3 separate regions of the Homo sapiens genome follow, and regions 1 and 2 are each linked to region 3. Evidence: promoter capture Hi-C in 16 types of primary human blood cells and fetal thymus (Javierre and others, 2016). All regions are on one chromosome and are shown on one strand. The core of a region is centred on a gene start or on the middle of the fragment in contact, and the rest is flanking DNA. Distances in the headings are between cores, read along the strand shown.

The links. Contacts are between HindIII fragments. The CHiCAGO score rates a contact against its expected background, and 5 or more counts as called.
Region 1: a fragment that was not itself captured here is called in contact with the fragment with the promoter of RAB11B in region 3 in 4 of 17 cell types (non-activated CD4 T cells, naive CD4 T cells, fetal thymus and 1 more); the score reaches 6.5 in non-activated CD4 T cells.
Region 2: a contact is called between a fragment that was not itself captured here and the fragment with the promoter of RAB11B in region 3, in 1 of 17 cell types (neutrophils). The highest score is 6.4, in neutrophils.

The regions. Positions count from the first base shown.
Region 1 is chr19:8,590,284-8,593,850 of GRCh38, forward strand. It overlaps ADAMTS10 (ADAM metallopeptidase with thrombospondin type 1 motif 10), which reads right to left. Exons shown (of 26, transcript NM_030957.4): 13 at 2,480-2,587; 14 at 1,675-1,820; 15 at 1,517-1,580. Among named protein-coding and RNA genes, the nearest start is that of MYO1F, 15 kb to the left of the region's middle. RefSeq lists an enhancer at 1,518-2,116. The HindIII fragment of the contact is 2,010 bases long and covers 851-2,860 here.
Region 2 is chr19:8,634,211-8,638,119 of GRCh38, forward strand. NFILZ (NFIL3 like basic leucine zipper) reads left to right here. Exons shown (of 6, transcript NM_001378600.1): 3 at 1,440-1,536. Among named protein-coding and RNA genes, the nearest start is that of NFILZ, 5.5 kb to the left of the region's middle. The HindIII fragment of the contact is 6,295 bases long and covers 1-3,909 here.
Region 3 is chr19:8,388,421-8,392,137 of GRCh38, forward strand. RAB11B (RAB11B, member RAS oncogene family) reads left to right here and starts at 1,940. Exons shown (of 5, transcript NM_004218.4): 1 at 1,940-2,036. The coding sequence starts at 1,997. It overlaps RAB11B-AS1 (RAB11B antisense RNA 1), which reads right to left and starts at 2,271. Exons shown (of 3, transcript NR_038237.1): 1 at 1,589-2,271. It overlaps MIR4999 (microRNA 4999), which reads right to left and starts at 960; the gene lies at 870-960. RefSeq lists silencers at 1,572-1,853, 2,073-2,332 and an enhancer at 1,603-1,802. The HindIII fragment of the contact is 8,866 bases long and covers 1-3,591 here.

The DNA.
Region 1 (3,567 bases), core at 606-3,105, 200 kb after region 3:
TTCTTTTTTGAGACAGAATCTCACTCTGTCGCCCAGGCTGGGGTACAGTGCATGATCTTAGCTCATTGCAACCTCCATCTCCTGGGTTCAAGCAATTCTTCTGCCTCAGCCTCCCGAGTAGCTGGGATTACAGGTGCATGCCACTATGCCTGGCTAATTTTTGCATTATTTATTTATTTATTTATTTATTTTTAGACAGAGTTTCGCTCTCGTTGCCCTAGTTGGAGTGCAGTGACACAATCTCGGCTCACTGCAACCTCCGCTTCCTGGATTCAAGTGATTCTCCTGCCTCAGCCTCCCAAGTAGCTGGGACTACAGGCGCGTGCCACCACGCCTGGCTAATTTTTTGTATTTTTAGTAGAGACGGGGTTTCACCATGTTAGCCAGGCTGGTCTCGAACTCCTGACCTCAGGTGATTGACCCGCCTCGGCCTCCCAAAGTGCTGGGATTGCAGGCATGAGCCACCTCATCCGGCCTAATTTTTGTATTTTTAGTAGAGATGGGGTTTTGCCATGTTGGCCAGGATGGTCTCGAACTCCTGACCTCAGGTGATCTGCCTGCCTCAGCCTCCCAAAGTGCTGGGATTATAGGTGTGAGCCACTGCACCTGGCCACATGGAGTCTTTCTTGAGAGAGAAGGTCTGGAAGGGATCAGGGTTTATAGAAAGTGCTAGCATGTGGATTCTCTGAAGACCTGGTTCCCCCCAGCTGGGAGGCTGAAAAGTCCAAAGCTCTCACTGCCCTCTAAAACACCCCCTCCCCAGTAAACTTCTCACTGCTCACTGATGGTTGCAGGTCAGCTGAGGGCACAAGCAGAGGACAGACACCTGTCACTGGGTTTGGTGAGAGGAAGCTTCAGCTACAACTTTGGGGGATGACAGAAGGCAGGGGTAGGACTCTTCAGGGGAAGTTGGGCTGTAAAGGGAGGGGAGAGACTGGATGGTAGGGGGTTGTGAGGGCCAAGCAGTGATTTCAAGGTGGGGGCTTGTAGTCTAAATGTAGGAGGAAAAGAGAGCTGGAAGGAGCCAGGTCTTTAAGGAGGAGGGGTTGGGGACGAGAAGGTGGTGGGGGTCAGGGAGAGGAGGGAAGAGAGGGGTGGCGGCTGCAGGTTCCCCAGGAGGCAGCAGGTGCCTGGATGAAGCACTCTGATAGCGTTTTTGTTTTTTTTTTTTTTTTTGAGATGGAGTTTCGCTCTGTCACCCAGGCTGGAGTGCAGTGGTGCGATCTCGGCTCACTGCAGCCTCCGCCTCCCGGGTTCAAGCGATTCTCCTGCCTCAGCCTCCCGAGTAGCTGGGATTACAGGCGCCTGCCACCACGCCCAGCTAATTTTTGTATTTTTAGTAGAGACGGGGTTTCACTATGTTAGCCAGGATGGTCTCGATCTCCTGACCTCGTGATCCGCCTGCCTTGGCCTCCCAAAGTGTTGGGATTACAGGCGTGAGCCACGGTGCCCGGCCTCTGATAGCTGTTTTTAATGCTTCCTCCCCCCACCCCTCAAGGGGTTTGGGGGAACTCACATCCGTGTTGCAGGAGCGGTGCCGCCTTCTCTCACCCAGACAGTACTTGCCCCCGATGGTTGGCCTGGAAAGGGTGGTGGGATAGGAGAGGGATGAGGCAGTGGGCGATGGGGGCAGGGGTCGCGCTGCCCTCCCGGGTGGGGGTCCTGAGGGCTGACCTGGGGCTGTCGCAGTGACGGCTAGAAGAGGACACGCCGCCGCCACAGGTCCGGCTGCAGTCGCCCCATGGAGTCCACGGCCCCCAGGCTCCGTCCACACCCTCTGGGCGCGACCCAAAGGGGACACAGACCCGTTTGTAGCACCACTGGGTGGGGGGAGACAGGAAGGAGTGAGTCCAGCCCGGAGGACACTCGTCGGCCCCATGCACCGTTCCCCACTCCAGGCCCCAGCCAGAGATATCAGCCTCTCCGGGATGGGCAGAGGCGGGGTCTGAACATGCGAACAGAGTCAGGTTACGTAGGAGAGTGGTCTGGGAGACAGACCAGGTACAAGCGAGAGGCGTGGCCTGAGCACAGGGTGCTTAACGGGGAGGGGTGTAGACAGGACCACGATAAGCGTGGAGACGAGGTGGGGCGTGGCTTCAGGCTGGGGAGGGGAGGTCTACAGGCAGTAGGCGTGGCCAGAGCCGAGGGCAGCACAGGGGATGGGCGTGGCCAATGAGGGAGAGAGCAAACAGTAGGCGTGGCCAGAGCCGTGGGAATCATTACACGGTGGGCGTGGCCAACGCGGGAGGGAGTTAAACAGTAGGCGTGGCCAGAACCAAGGGACGCATAGACGGTGGGCGTGGCCAACGCGGGAAGGAGCAAGCAGTAGGCGTGGCCACAGCCGAGGGAGCACAAATGGCGGGCGTGGCCAATGTGGGAGGGAGCAGATAATAGGCCGAAGGACAGGCGGGTAGGCGTGGCCAACGCGGGAGGTGGCTCAGGGGGCGTGGCCCAGTTGGGGGCCCTGGCCGGCGCTCACCCCCTTGTCGATGGTGTGCGTCTGGCACAGCGTGCCCTCGGCGGCCGGGATGCTGTTGGTGATGCACCGGTTGCTCTTGCTCAGACACCACAGCTCGCTGCAGACCTCCTGCGGGCCGAGGTGCCCGCTCAGGCTCGCCCCCCTCCCTTCCTCCCTGGGGCAGCCCGCCCGGCTTGGGAGGACCCAGATGTCCGGCTCACTGCCGGTCCCAGAGCAGAGAGCCCGGTGCTCCCTTCCTGGCTCGCGGTGGGTCTTCGTGCATCCCCTTGCGGGGCATGGCCTGTGACTTATACTCTCCCAATAAGCTCCATTTATGGAGCACTTTATACATGCCATATACCTCTTTAGGCAGTACTACCCCATCTTACTGGGAGAAAACCAAGCTTCAGACAGGTAAGGTCACACAGCTACTAAGGGAATAGCCTGGAGTTTAACCCAGCTCTTTAATTCAGAGTCTGTGCTCTAACGAACTTTGCAATTCAGTTCCTGGTGCCTTCTGAGTTTCTGGAAGGAAACGTGGGAACTGCTGAGGAATGAACAGGAAGGATTTGGGGTTCTTTTATGGGATGGGCAAAGTAGCCGAAGAGAAAGTGGTGGTTCTGAGAAATCGGCCTGGATGATGACTAGGCCAACGGCCTCATCTCTAGTTTTTTCCAGCTGTTGGTTCTCTTTGTTCCCCCATCTAAACTGGAGAAGCCCCCAACACTTTTAAGCTATGTGGAGGGGTGGGAGTTTGGGAGGGGACAATGCCGAGTTAGGTCTGTGTGGGACATGCCTCTCTTTCTCCAGGTGAAAAATCAGCCCCACCTTCTTCCCGTCTGAATCCTGGATGGGCTGAACTAGTCCCAGGGACTCACTCTGACTCTTAAAGTCCAGGTTAATATCCCTGGAGAAGCCCCAGTGAGTTCAGGTGAAGCAAAATCTCTGACCCTCTTGGCCCACATCCTAAGCAACCTCCCAGCGTCTTTCCTCTAAAAAGTAGGTGGTCCTCTCTGACCCTCTTGGCCCACATCCTAAGCAACCTCCCAGCGTCTTTCCTCTAAGAAGTAGGTGGTCCTTCTGTAATTATCAAGTGTAATCCCCGCTTT
Region 2 (3,909 bases), core at 1,027-3,526, 250 kb after region 3:
TGGTCTTGAACCCCTGGCTTCAAGTGATCCACCCCCTTGGTCTCCCAAAGTGTTGGGATTACAGGCGTGAGCCACCCTGCCTGGCCTCTTTTTTTTTTCTTTTTGAGACAGGGTTTCACTCTGTTGCCCAGGCTGGATTGCAGTGGTGCAATCCAGCCTTGAATGTCTGGGCTCAAATGATTCTCCCACATCAGCCTCCTGAGTAGCTGGAACTATCGGCGCATGCCGTGACACCCAGCTAATTTTTATTTTTTGTAGAGATGGGATCTCTCTCAAATTCCTGGCCTCAAGTAATCCTCTTGCCTCAGCCTACCAAAATGCTGGGCCTTATTATTGTAATGTTTTTTCCTTTCATTTAAGTAAAAATTAAAGTGTAATTTACTGGCCAGGTGTGGTGGCACAGGCCTATAGTCCCAGCACTTTGGGAGGCTGAGGCGGGCGGATCGCTTGAGCTCAGGCATTGGAGATCAGTCTGGGCAACACAGTGAGACCTTGTCTCTACAAAAAACAAAACAGAAAATTAGCTGGGCATAGTGGTGTGCATTCGTAGTTCCAGCTAATTGGGAGGCTAAGGTGGGAGGATCACTTGAATCCGGGAAGTCGAGGCTGCATCAAGCCAAGATGGCCCCACTGCACTTTAGCCAAGACCCTATCACAAACAAACAAACAAACAAACAAACAAACAAACAAACAAAAAAACAAAAAAACCAGTGTAATTTACTGACAGTGAAACCCATACATATTAGTATACGATTCTGTGATATTTGACAAACCACACAACCCTATAACCACAACCTCAATAGAAATACAGAATACCGGCCAGGCCTGGTGGCTCACACTTGTAATCCTAGCACTTTGGGAGGCTGAGGCGGGTGGATCACTTGAGGTCAGGAGTTCAAGACCAGCCTGGCCAACATAGTGACTCTCTGTCTCTACTAAAAATACAAAAATTAGCCGGGCATGGTGGTGGGCACCTGTAATCCCAGCTACTCAGGAGGCTGAGGCAGGAGAATCGCTTGAACCTGGGAGGCGGAGGTTGCAGTGAGCCGAGATCATACCACTGCACCTCAGCCTGGGCAACAGAGCAAGACTCCATCTCAAAAAAAAAAAAATTAAAAAAAAAAAAAAAGAAATACAGAATACCTTTTTCCCTCCCAATTCCTGCAATTCCTGCGTGCCCCTCTGGAGTCAATTTCTCTCCCTCAGTCCCAGCCCCTGGCCCCTGCTGACTTCCTCTCTGTTGCTATATTTCTGCCTTTTCCCAGGATATTATGTCAATGGAATCGTACCATAGGCAGCTTTTGGCGCATACTTCTTCCAGGCAGCAGAATGCATTTGAGGCTTATTCACGTTGTTGGGTGTAGCATTTTTTGTTTCTTTTACTGTTGAGGAGTCCCTGGTATGGATGTGTCACCATGCATCCATTCATTTGTTGACAGACACGTGAGTTGTTTCCAGTTTTGGTGACGAATGCCCAAATTCATAGGCGATGATAAATAATGTGCCAGACGTTGATGTGCAAGTTTTGGTGTGAGGGTAAGTTTCCATTTCTCTACGGTGAATACCTATGAGTCCTTATTCTCTCTCTCTGTCTCTGACTTTCTCTTTCTCTCTTTATTTATTTGTTTATTTATTTTTATTTATTAGACAGGGTCTTGCTCTGTCACCCAAACTGGAGTGCAATGGTGCAGTCTTGGCTCATTGCCACCTCTGCCTCCTGGGCTCAAGCTATTTTCCTGTCTCAGCCTCCAGAGTAGCTGGAATTACAGGTGCGCACCACCACACCCAGCTGATTTTTGTATTTTTAGTAGAGAGGGGGTTTCACCGTATTGCCCAGGCTGGTGTTGAACTCCTGGCCTCAAGTGTTCTACCCGGCTCATCCTCCCAAAGTACTGGTATTACAGGCATGAGCCACCACACCCAGCCAAAACCAGCCTTTTAAAAAAATTTTATTTTCGGCTGGGCGCGGTGGCTCATGCCTGTAATCTCAGCACTTTGGGAGGCCGAGGCGGGTGAATCACGGGGTCAGGAGTTCGAGACCAGCCTGACCAACATGGTGAAACCCCGTCTCTACTAAAAATACAAAAATTAACTGGGCATGGTGGCACACGCCTGTAGTCCCAGCTACTTGGGAGGCTGAGGCAGGAGAAATGCTTGAACCTGGGAGGCGGAGGTTGCAGTGAGCCGAGATTGCGCCATTGCACTCCAGCCTGGGCAACACAGCGAGACTCCATCTTTTTTTTTTTTTTTTTGAAACAGAGTCTTGCTCTGTCGCCCAGGCTGGAGTTCAATGGCGCCATCTCGGCTCACCGCAACCTCTGCCTCCTGGGTTCAAGCAATTCTCCTCCCTTAGCCTCCTGAGTAGCTAGGATTACAGGCATGCACCATCATGCCCAGCTATGTTTTTTTTTTTAATTTTTATTTTTAGTAGAGACGGGGTTTCACCATGTTGGTGAGGCTGGCCTTGAACTCCCGACCTCAGGTGATCAGCTTGCCTTGGCCTCCCAAAGTGCTGGGATTACAGGCGTGAGCCACCATGCTTGGCTAATTTTTGTATTTTTAATAGAGGTGAGGTTTCACCCTTTTGCCCAGGCTGGCCTCGAACTCCTGACCACAAGTGATCCGCCCACCTTGGCCTCCCAAAGTTTTGGGATTACAGGCATTAGCCATTGCGCCTGGCCTATATGGAGGCTTTTGTATGGAGAGACAGGACACTGGTCCCCTGGATACTGGAGGGGGACAGTCAGGGATAGAGCTGGGGCCAAGGGGAAGATATAGAAGTGCGAATCAGGTGAGGTATAGGACAGGGTGCCTGGAGGGGAGGCCAGAATCTTCATTCTAACCAAATCCTTGCCTAGTTTTTAAAAAAATGGGCAAGGCTGAATGTGGTGGCTCATACCTGTAGTCCCAGTACTTTAAGAGGCCAAGGCAGAAGGATCACTTGAGCCCAGGAGTTCGAGGCTGCAGTGAGCTAGGACTGTGCACTCCAGCCGGGTGTGATGACGCACACATATAATCTCAGCTCTCAGAAGGCTGAAGCAGGAGAGTCACTTGAATCCAGGAGGCAGAGATTGTAGTGAGCTGAGATCACACCACTGCACTCCAGCCTGGGCAATAGAAAAAAAACCAAAACCAAACCAAAACAAAACCTTAAACACAAAGTTACCATAGAACTCAGCAACTCCTGAGGTCAGGAGTTCGAGACCAGCCTGACCAACATGGTGAAGCCCCTTCTCTACTAAAAATACAAAAATTAGCAGGGAATGGCGGTGCATACTTGTAGTCCCAGCTACTTGGGAGGCTGAGGCAGGAGAATAGCTTGAACTGGGGAGGTGGAGGTTGCAGTGACCCGAGATTGCACCACTGCTCTCCAGCCTAGGCGACAGAGTGAGACTCCATCTCAAAAAAAAAAAAGGCCGAGTGCAGTGGCTCACGCCTGTAATTCCAGCACTTTGGGAGGCTGAGGCATGTGGATCACCTGAGGTCAGGAGTTTGAGACCAGCCTGACCAACATAGTGAAACTCCATCTCTACTAAAATACAAAAAATTAGCCAGGCATGGTGGCAGATGCCTGTAATCTCAGCTACTTGGGAGGCTGAGGCAGGAGAATCACCTGAACCAGGGAGGCGGAGATTGCAGTGAGCTGAGATTGCGCCACTGTACTACAGCCTGGGCGACAAGAGCAAGACTAAAGATGGTCTCAAAAAAAAAAAAAAAAAAAAAAGAAAAGAACAGAAAAAGAAAAACAAAAAGCCTCCACATAGTCCCCTTGCTCTTGTAGAACAGAGAAGGACTTCATAGACCTTTCCCCAACACAGGTTAGTGCCAGCATGACCTTGCCAGGCCACCTTAATAGAGCAAAGATCAGTAGATGCTATGGGAAGTCAAATTTTCTCAACATTAGAAACT
Region 3 (3,717 bases), core at 690-3,189:
GGCTTTTTTTTTTTTGAGACAGGGTCTTGCTCTGTTACCCAAGCTGGAGTGCAGTGGGGTGATCATGGCTCACTGCAGCCTCGATTTCCCAGGCTCGAATGATCCTCCCGCCTTGGCCTCCCAAGTATCTGGGACCCTGGCATGATGCACCACATCTGGCTAATTTTTGTTGTTGTTCTTTTCTTTTTTTTCCTTTTCTCTTTTTTTTCCTTTTTTTCTTTTTTTTTTTTTTTTTTTGAGAGACTGGGTTTTGACATGTTGCCTAGGCTGGTCTCTAGCTCCTGGCCTCAAGTGATCCTCCCACCTCAGCCTCCTCAAAGGGCATGTTTTTAGGCATAAGCCACCGCAGCCAGCCAAAACAAACAAACAAAAAGTAACGTATACTTTGTGTTAATAATTTTGCATAGTATATTGAAAATTTGCCAAGAAAGTACATTTTAGATACTCTCACTACACACACAGTTAATTATGGAAGGCAATGGATAGGTTAATTGCTTAACTCTCATAATTGGCCATGTGTGGTGAAAATGCCTGTAATCCCAGCACTTTGGGAGGCCAAGGTGGGCGAATCACCTGAGGTCAGGAGTTCGAGATCAGCCTGACCAACATGGAGAAACCCCGTCTCTACTAAAAATACAAAAAAATTAGCCAAGCATGGTGGTGCATGCCTGTAATCCCAGCTATTCGGGAGGCTGAGGCATGAGAATCGCTTGAACCCGGGAGGCAGAGGCTGCAGTGAGCCGAGAGCACACCATTGCACTTCAGCCTGGGCAACGACAGCAAAACTCCGTCTCAAAAAAAAAAAAAAAAACTGTCATAATTATTATTTCACTGGGTACATGTGTATCAAAACACACGCTGTACACCCTAAATATATAAAACAAACACATACTGTATTGTCAGGTAGTGATAAATCCTATCACTACCTGACAATACAGCAGTATGTGTTTTATTTTCTATATTACCTATTTTTATATTTTACCTATGTGGCAAAATATAGGACAAAAGAGGGGTAGTGGTAGGAGGTCCTGTTGGAGAGCATTGGTATCCAGTAAGGATTTAAAAGTATTTATTTAACAAAGAATAGCAGAAAGTGGACGGTTGATTCACACTTGGTGCAATCTCGGCTCACTGCAACCTCCACCTCCCAGGTTCAAGCGATTCTCCTGCCTCAACCTCCTGAGTAGCTGGGTTTACAGGCACCAGCGACCACGCCCGACTAATTTTTGTATTTTTAGTAGAAACGGGGTTTCACCATGTTGGTCAGGCTGGTCTCGAACTCCTGACCTCGTGATCCGCCAGCCTCGGCCTCCCAAAGTCCTGGAATTACAGGCGTGAGCCACCGCGCCTGGCTGATCTGGTTATTTTCAAAAGATTCCATGAGACGGGTTTCTTCAGTTTACAGAGGAGGAAACTGAGGCACAGAAGGATAACCCAGTGAGTCCCAATATAGAGATGGAGACTGCAACCGAGAAAGGGGACCCAGCGCTGAGGTCCCCGGAAATGGTCATTTATGGGCTTGGGGGGCGACCAGGGCAGCGCGCGCTGACCTATGACGTCATCGGGACGTTAAGCATCGTAGCATTACCTGGACGTAGCCCCATTTCTCTTCCCGGACAGGTCCTCTGATAGTCGGGTAGGTTCTCAATCAAGCCTCTCATTAGTTATTTGGTCTGTCAATCCATTTCATTCCTGCAGTCTTCCGCCCCGCCCTCTTGAGCTCGCCCCTGATAGGCTGGCGCGTCCGTCACTTCAAAAAGGTCCGCATTCCTTCCGCCTTTCTCCAGGACACCGAGGGCGAGGAGGGTGGTACCAAGCGGCGCCCACCCTCAGAGCACTACTTCCATCTCTGATTGGCTTCGCTGGGTGCCCGTCGCTACTCCACTCGCCGCTGATAGGCCATTCAACCGCCGCTCTGCGCGGCGCCGGCTCCGCCCCCGTCGGGTGTTTGTGGTGGGGCTGCGGAGTCGCCGATCCCGCCGGAAGCGCCAGGACAATGGGGACCCGGGACGACGAGTACGACTACCTATTCAAAGGTGCGGCCGGTGGGGCACAGACGGGCGAAGTCGTGGCGGCGAGGCGGCGGGCAGACGGGCCAAGGCCGCGCTCCAGGCCGCTGGGCCCAGGCCGGAGCCCGGGGCTTGGGGCCCGGCGGGTCAGGCAGCCGGGAAGGCCGGAGCCGACCGGGCAGCATCAGCTTCGGGCTAGGATGCGCGGCTATACGGAGCCGGAGGCCCGGAGAGACCTGGGGGACCTAGGACGCGCCGGGGCGGGGCCAGAGCCTAGAGGGGGTGGGGCCCGGAGCGGTGGGAGAGGCTGTTAGGGCGGGGCCTCCGCAGGGGGTGGAGCTTTCCCAAGATTTGGCGGGCCGGGCTGGGCTGAAAGCGTGATTCGGGATGGGGGCGGGGTTTTTAGGGGCGGGGCTAAGGCGTGATGGGCGTGACCAATAGGTGGGTTGGGCCTGGGCAAACGGAGGCGGGGCTCTCACGAGGCTTGTCCTGATTGGGGCAGCGTGTTTGGGGGTGGGGCCCGGGAGAGGCGGGGCAGGCAATGGGGGCTGGGCCGAGATGAGGGCCTGGGGGTGAGGTGTGTGGTGGTGGGAGCCTTGGATTGGGGTGCAAAGCTGGGATTGAGTGGAAAGGCACCCGTGTGTGCAGCAAGAATTCCATCTCTTCACTCAGAACTCTCAACAGTGCTAAGCCAGTACTTGCACTTTTCTGAGCACTTTACCCGAATTAACTAAAATCCTCACTGCAGCCCTTTGAGGTTGATACTAACCAGCCTCTCTTTTTACACGTTGGGAAACTGAGGCCCAGAGTGACAAAGACACAGTTTATAAGTGTTGGAACCCGATTGAGCCCAGGCCACCTGTAGGCCTTACCACTTAGGAAGCGTGTCTTAGGGGGCTTGTGGCCAGCATCTGGGACTTTGGGTTGTTGGACCAACTTCTTCCAACACGTGCGCACTGATGGCCGGGGCCCCAGCCAGCCTGCTGGAGGGTCTTCCCCGCCCGAGGGACTGAGGGGGCTCTAGGAGCATCACATAAGGCCTAGGTAGATCAGGCAGCCATTGCCCATTTAGGGACAGCTGGAGGAAGCCGGAGTCCCTTGTTTCTCAGCTGAGCCTTCTGTGCCCAGCTACACTTTGGCCTAGTGGTCTGCCCTGGTTGCTGGGCTCCCTGGCTGACAATGGCAGCCCTTGAGGGCTAACCCCTGGATCCAAGGTGCCTTCACCCTGCGGCCTGCTCTATGAGGGCCTGCGTCGCACATCAGCTGTTGGTATCCTCACCTCGCTGAGCCGTTCCTCCGAGTGTGCTCTGTGGCTTGCACCAGGCCTAGCTGGGCCTTGTGTCTGGTCTCATCCAGCGTCTTCTGATTGTGGGGAATGAGGCAGAGGTCTCCCCACCTGGGCTGTCCGTGTGGCGAAAGCCTTCCGGGGGGAGGGAGAGGAAGTGCCTCTACAAGGGCCTAGAGTCGTCCTGTGGCACTGAGGGCTCTGGCAGCTGCACACAGGTTGATAATGTCACTGGTGGGTGAGGCTCTGTGGTCAGCAGGTGCCCGGCCCAAGGTCTCGCCCCTCGTGGCAGGAGGAAGCTTTGGAAGGGTTTTGGAGACTGGGATTCTAAGGGGCCGTCTGGAGACAGGGGGACTAAACTTTGGGTCCTGCTGATCGGGTGCCATCTCCACTCAGCCCACCGTGAGGCAGCTGCTCCCAGGT